Linked DNA regions of Homo sapiens: region 1 is linked to region 2. Evidence: promoter capture Hi-C in 16 types of primary human blood cells and fetal thymus (Javierre and others, 2016). All regions are on one chromosome and are shown on one strand. The core of a region is centred on a gene start or on the middle of the fragment in contact, and the rest is flanking DNA. Distances in the headings are between cores, read along the strand shown.

Region 1 (3,644 bases), core at 752-3,251, 81 kb before region 2:
ATACACTTCTCTACTCCCTCACATCTTCAACTGGCCTCAACTGCTCTTTGCATTGCTTTCTATAAGTGCTCCAGAATAGCTGTGTAGCAATCTATTCTTCCATTGCAGATACTAAACAAATAAGTGCTATGGGGAAAAAATAAAAACAAAACAGAATAAGGGGGCTAGAGGGAAGGTGAGAAGTAGAAATAAGGCTGAGTTAGAGGCCTTGTAGGCTGTGACTGCTCCTGCTTCAGACAGAGTAGCTGTGTTTTCGTCTGTTTTATATATTGGAACTCAATGTAAAATTTCATTTGATAAAAGGGCCATGCTACTTTAAACAGAATGGTGGGGATAGGATCTTATTATATAGAGTGGTAGAAAGGCCTCTCTGATGAAGCGACATTTGAGCAGAGACCCTCCTTCTAGATGATCATCCTGGATAAAATAGGAGCCAGAGATTAAGAGGGAAATCCTACTTGGGAGCATCTCCTTCCTTCTCTCCAGCACTGCTTCCATAGTTCAGGAGTGGCTGATAGCTAAGCAAGGTTAGAGTTTTTCCAAGGGAATTTTTATAAGAAACTACACAAAGGAAATACAGTAATTTAGAAAGAGATTTAGAAAACATTGTTCACCCTAACTTGGCAAGTACTGGCTCTCTGAAGGCTTATACTGGGACACGTAATACCTCCAGTCTAGAAATTGTCTTGGTATACTTAGAAAAGTGAAAGTCTTTTCACGAAAAAGTATTTTCCGTCAGGAAAGGGAGGGAGACCATCCCAGCCTCAGCAGCTTGGTGTGGTGGTGACTACAGAAGTGATCAACCTCAAAGCCAGGTGTGGCAAGAACCACATCCTACCTGTGAATGTCCTCATGGAGGCCTTTCCTACATTTTTTTTTAAGATTCGTAGAAATTTGAAACAGAATGCAACAGGTCCAGGATCTTGCAGTACAAGGCAGAGAGAACCAGAATCACTTGATAGAATAATAGAACCATTTCTTAAGGCCACAACATGATTTCTGTGGTACTGAGTCATGTCTTATGAAAGCTTCTGGGAGATGATCTTGGTCTCAGTACTGTAAAGTACTAATTGATGCCAGGATTTTGATAGTAATGACTAATCATTGAGGTCACTTTGGAATATAAACTATCAAAAATGAATTTGAGACAGAATCCTTACCATTTATAAAATGATTTCCACTTAAACTAGTAATAATAAATGAGTATGCCATATGCTATGGTTTGAATATTTGTCTCCTCCAAAACTTGTGTTGAAACTTAATCCCAAGTGTGGCAGTATTGAGAAGTGAGGCCTTTGAGAGGTAATTGAATTATCACCCCTGCCCTCATAAATGGATTAACTCATTCATGGATTAATGGGTTAATTGGTGATCATAGGAGAACTGGTAACTTTATAAGAAGAGGAAGAAAGGGCTGAGTTAGCATATTAGCATGCTCAGCCCCCTCACCATGAAATGCCCTCCACTGCCTCAGGACTCTTCAGAGGGTCTCCACCAGCAAGAAGGCTCTCACCAGATGCACCCCTCCACCCTGGACTTCTCAACCTCCATAACTATAAGAAATAAATTCTTTTTATAAATAAATTACTCAAGTTCAGGTATTCTATTCTAAACAACAGAAAATGGACTGAGACACCATATTTGTGAATAAATACAATAAATAATTTTAAATTCCTTTTGTAATAACTATTTAGACCCATTTGATTTGATTTTTATATATTTTTTCAAGTTAGGTTTATTTAGTTTGCTGCAGCAAGAAAGAGAACACGGCACAGAAACTATGGGGTGTGTCATTAAGAAGGAATTGGGAAGGGCTTATGTTAAGATTTGAGCTTATGTTGGGTGATTCTAAGGAGATTGTAGAGACAGCAGGTAGATCCATTTTAAGTAAATTCTAAAGAGTAAAACAACAACTCAGTTTTCTTATTCAGTATCACATTGCATCACTAATTCTTCTCCCCAGACTACCTTTCTCACCCTAACCTTTTCATTAGGCCTTGAGAGGGCCCAGGGAATCACTTATCATCAGTACCTCTCTGGGTTGCTTTTAATCTTATTTATATAATTACTTCAGATAAAGGCACCCCCAGTAGTCACAGTCAGCCCCAGCCAAGTCATCTCCCCAGACATGTCCAAAACTGTTGTACTTTGCTTTTATAAACTCATTTTAAGCTCCTGTCTTTCAGCAGCTTCAGTTAAAATGCCACCATGGGCCGGGCGCGGTGGCTCACGCCTGTAATCCCAGCACTTTGGGAGGCCGAGGCGGGCGGATCACGAGGTCAGGAGATCGAGACCATCCCGGCTAAAACGGTGAAACCCCGTCTCTACTAAAAAATACAAAAAATTAGCCGGGCGTAGTGGCGGGCGCCTGTAGTCCCAGCTACTTGGGAGACTGAGGCAGGAGAATGGCGTGAACCCGGGAGGCGGAGCTTGCAGTGAGCCGAGATCCCGCCACTGCACTCCAGCCTGGGCGACAGAGCGAGACTCCGTCTCAAAAAAAAAAAAAAAAAAAAAAAAAATGCCACCATGAGGATAACTGAAGTGATTTCTTCAGGTAATGCAACCACATTACACTGGCATTTTCACATCTGAGTTAGCAGTTCTGCTGGAGCTTTAGGCACCCTGAGTCATAAGGCCCTCTGCATCAAGCCAGGTTTGTGTGCCGCCTGAGTGGCCGCAGCCCATAAGCAGCCATGTACGTTTTTCATGGATGTTAAATGTAATACAAAATAATACAACAAACAGCGATTCAACCAGTAATATAAAATCCATACAGGAGTAGAGGTTTTTCATCAGTGGGTACTCTGCTACCCTTGATCTTTTGAGGTACTAGTTATCCTAGTCTATAATCTTCCCTTTATTGGCCTAACTTATATTTTCTTACTTTATTTTCCACATTCCTTTTTGGCCCCTTGGCTTTCTTCAGCTCATTTCTTTGCATAGTTACTGATTCCTTTATGAATATTAAGCTTTATTTATTTATTGATACTCCAGTACTAAATCTTGTTTGTTACTCCCACTGGCACATTGGATTCCTCTCCTTCTAGCTCTCTGTGTCTCCAATCATTTCTTCTTTCTAAGCCCTTTCTTTCCTTCCAGACTTTCCTTAGTCTCTGACATATCTTTTTATCCTTATTCCCTATTCTGTCTTTTCCATAGAACTTTGCAACTTTACAGTTTAGTTGACTGCCTCCTCAGTATGTAAACCTTTCTCTATGTCTTATATAAACTTCTCAATATTTTGTCTTACACTCTCCGTCCTTCACATTGTGTGTTGTTTTATAAACATGCTAGCAATAATCATGTATATTTCATTTGGATCATCCTTTCTCTTTCCTGGTGACATTTGTTTTTCCATTTCAGATGAAGACATCAAAACTACAAATGTGAAATCTGCTTCAAGGCAAAAGACTTCTTTAGGCATAGAACTGCATTGCAATGTTTCCAATATCCTTCATATGAATGGCTCCCAGAGTTCCACATATAGAGGAACCTATGAACAAGATGGTAGGTTTGAAAAGAGACAAGGAAACCCTTCTTGGAAAAAACAACAGAAATGTGATGAATGTGGCAAAATCTTTAGTCAGAGCTCAGCCCTTATTTTACATCAGAGAATCCACAGTGGAAAGAAACCTTATGCATGT
Region 2 (3,584 bases), core at 197-2,696:
AAATCTCAAAATAACTTCAAGGTATGAAGTACTATGCACTTGAAAAGTGAGGAAACAGAATCGTAAAATATATGAGTAACTTACTGGAGCCAGTTAAGTGACAAAACTACTGTTTGAATCTAGGTTGTCAGACTCCAGAACTTTTAACTATGCCCCTACAGTAGATAAGAAAAATGACCAAAACTGACAGATTAGCAATGAGGTCATTATACAGGGAAAAATGAATGACTTTGGGGTCTTAAAAAAGTGGAGAGAGCTGCATGAGAATTTGATCGCCAGATTTTGAAATAAAGTCATGTGACTATGCTTGGTACACTAAAGAGGTAATACTGCCTAACAGAGTTAAGGGGGATCATTTGAAGACACTAGCATAGAGTGACACCCCCTCATCCTCCCCACCCCGCCAAAGCCACTAAGAAAGATATAATACCCTGCCTCTCACCTGACAGAAGGTGGTGTTCCTGAGATTCATAATTGAACTGGATCTCCATGGGCTGCAACTGGACACCTCAGTGTGCAAGTGGAGAATTACCATTTCCTCTGTAAGCTTTTCTTGTCCACATAAAGGTCTGGGACCTGGAGGCAACTGGGCACCACTGGGCTTGGAAGGGAATCATTGTGCTGACTACAGATGTAATCTCTGAGACTAGACCACCAGAAAAATCCTCAAGATATAAAAGAAGGAGAAAACAAAAAATCTCATTTGACTTCCAGTTGCTTTTCTCTCAGAATGTATTAGGCTTCCTCCCCATCATCCAAGAGCCAGGGATTAACCCACTTAAGACACACATTCCCCATTCCAAGTCTAGAGATGTTCAAACAAAATTAGGGGTTAATGCTACCAAAAAAAGGTATAACTGGAAAGATAACGCAGAGAGGGGAATTTTACAGTGAATTCTAGTGGTTAACACTATGTTATTCGCTGCCCTTCCTATCCAAAAATGACACTACTGATCATTTTTCTTCCTTTTGCTTTTACAACATTCACAAATTCAGGTGGCTCTTTCCCAGTACGGTAGGCTGATTCGTATGGATGCACCACGGTTGGTGACTCCCCCCACCCCACAGAGTTTCTGGCGTTCATTCGGTTGAACCCAAGGCCAGCAAGGGCTGACTGGGAACAAACCGAACACTAGGCCGTGAACCAATCGTCTCTCCGTGCCCGGGAGCGACCCCGGGGGCCTTCACTCTCCAAGGACTCGAGAAACCATGCACAGTTTCCTGCTCGTTAGGCAAGATCACCCGGAACTCCTCTGCTATCCGCGAGCCGACATCACCCTTACCTCGACTTGGTCACCGGACCGCTGTGAAGCCTCACACCCGGCGAACCTGCCATCGCCCTGTCCGCTCTAGGAATCTGGGAGGAGTGCTCAGCTCTATGGCGCTTCACCGCGCAGGCGCAGGGCGGGGGTGGGGCACCGGGTGACGGAGGGCTGCCGAGAATTAACCCCCGAACCGCCGCGAGCTGTCCCTAGCAGTGCCTTAGCCAGGGACCTGCTTGGCCAGCGACAGATCCTTTGCTGCTCTGTCTGCCGGTTCTTGAGGTGAATGTCGGAATCCATTATCTTTCGGGAAAGCTCTCTGGGGCAGGGTAGGTTTTCTTACTACATACAAGTTCTTAATTAGTTATCGTTTTTTAAATAACCACCCCTCCCCCTATCGCTTATCTGATTCGTAGGTATGCTTTAATTCTAACTTTCTTCCTGTCCTCTCTGGTTTTTCACACCCCCAGAAGAGTAGCGCGCATCAGAATCACCTGGAGGCCTTGTTAAAATACTGACTTCTGCCCCACAACTCCGGAGTTGCTGATTTAGTAGTGGGGGAGGGGGCGGTGGCAGCCCAGGTTCTCAGGTGATCCTGAAGCTGTTGGTCCTGGGACCACATTTTGAGAACCACTGCCCAAGAAATAAGTGATGCTCAGTAATTAATCCCTGAATTAACGGAAAGTTGGATTTTTATCTACTTTGCAATCTAGAAAGGGTACGAGGTCTATTTAAGGTTTGCTTGCTAGAACAATTCTCACTGATCAGGGTGAGAAGGACCCGAAATGGAGGGTGCGGGGTAATCAGGGTAGGAAAGGATATTGCTGTGTTCATGGAAATATCTTGGGAAATGAGGAGTTGGGACCTCATTTCTGTTGAGACCAATGAGACGTGTGACTTGGTTTAAGCTGTCCGGTGGGGAAAGGAAGAGGTTTGAGAAAATGGTGGGTGGCTAAGTGGTAGTTGAGGTGGAGGAAGAGGGCTTCCTGTCCCAGCCCAAGTCCCTGTTGGGATATATGAAATTTAGGGATGTATGACTAAGCCCTTAATATAACCGTAAGAGGAAAGAGATGTGGGAACTTGAGTCCAACCCTCCCAAGTAGGGAGTGCAGATAGTTTTAAAAAAACAGCTTTCTTTTTGGCCAGGCGCAGCTTAGGCCTGTAATCCTAAAACTTTGGGAGGTTGAGGCAGGTGGATCACCTGAGATCAGGAGTTGGAGACCAGCCTGGCCAACAAGGTGAAACCCTGTCTCTACTACAAATACAAAAATTAGCTGGGCATGGTGGTGTGCGCCTTTAATCCCAGCTACTTGGGAGGCCGAGTCAGGAGAATCGCGTGAACCCATGAACCCAGGAGGCGGAGGTTGCAGTGAGCCGAGATTGCGCCACTGCACTCCAGCCTGGGTGACAAAGCGAGACTTTGTCTCAAAACAAAACAAAACAAAACAAAACAAAACAGCTTTATTGAGGTATAACTGACATAAACAGCAAATATTTAAAGGATATAATTTGATAAGGCTTGTTAAATGAATACAGCTGTGGAACTATCACTGCAATCAAAATAATATGTTTATTACATCTAAACCCCAAAAGTTTCCTCCTGCCCGTTGGTAAGCCTCTCTCCCAATGCCCCCTCCACTGGTCAGCTGTTACTAGAGATTAGTTTGCATTTTCTAGATATTTATTTAAATGGAATCATACAGAATGTCCTTGTTTTTGTCAGAGTTGTTTCACTAAGCTTTTATTTTGAGATTTATCTTTATTGCTGTGTGTATCAATAGTTAATTTTTGTTGCTGAATAATATTCCATTGTATGTATATACCACAGTTTGTTTATCCAATCACCAGTTCATGGGCATTTGGGTTATTCCAGGTTTTTACTGTTACAAGTAAAGCTGAGAACATTCATGTACACACGTCTTTATATGGACATATGCTTTTTTCCCCCTCTCTCATGGTAGATGTACATTTAATGTTTAAAAAAACCCACACTACTTTTCAGAGTGGCTGTATCATTTTGCATTCCTAACATGAGTACATGAGAGTTCCGGTTCCTCCACATCCTTACCAACTCACTGTGTATCTCACTGTGGTTTCAATTTGCATTTCCATACTGACTAATAATATTTAGCATTTTGTAATGTGCTTATATGCCATCTGTATATATTCTTTGGTGAAGTATCTGTACAAATCTTTCGTCCATTCTGGACACTAGTCTTTTGTCAAATATATGCTTTGTGGCCAGGTGCCATGGCCCAAGCGTGTAATTCCTGCACTTTTTGTAGGCCAAGGTGGGTGGATTGCTTGAGTCTAGGAGCTGGA

The links. The method cuts DNA at HindIII sites, captures the fragments that hold promoters and counts their contacts. A CHiCAGO score of 5 or more calls a contact.
Region 1: a fragment that was not itself captured here is called in contact with the fragment with the promoter of ZSCAN30 in region 2 in 2 of 17 cell types (total B cells and activated CD4 T cells); the score reaches 6.0 in total B cells.

The regions. Positions count from the first base shown.
Region 1 is chr18:35,369,380-35,373,023 of GRCh38, reverse strand. ZNF396 (zinc finger protein 396) reads left to right here. Exons shown (of 4, transcript NM_001322286.2): 4 at 3,364-3,644. Among named protein-coding and RNA genes, the nearest start is that of ZNF396, 6.1 kb to the left of the region's middle. The HindIII fragment of the contact is 1,941 bases long and covers 1,031-2,971 here.
Region 2 is chr18:35,288,091-35,291,674 of GRCh38, reverse strand. ZSCAN30 (zinc finger and SCAN domain containing 30) reads left to right here and starts at 1,446. Exons shown (of 4, transcript NM_001112734.4): 1 at 1,446-1,591. It also overlaps the pseudogene ZNF271P. RefSeq lists an enhancer at 1,170-1,329. The HindIII fragment of the contact is 2,453 bases long and covers 550-3,002 here.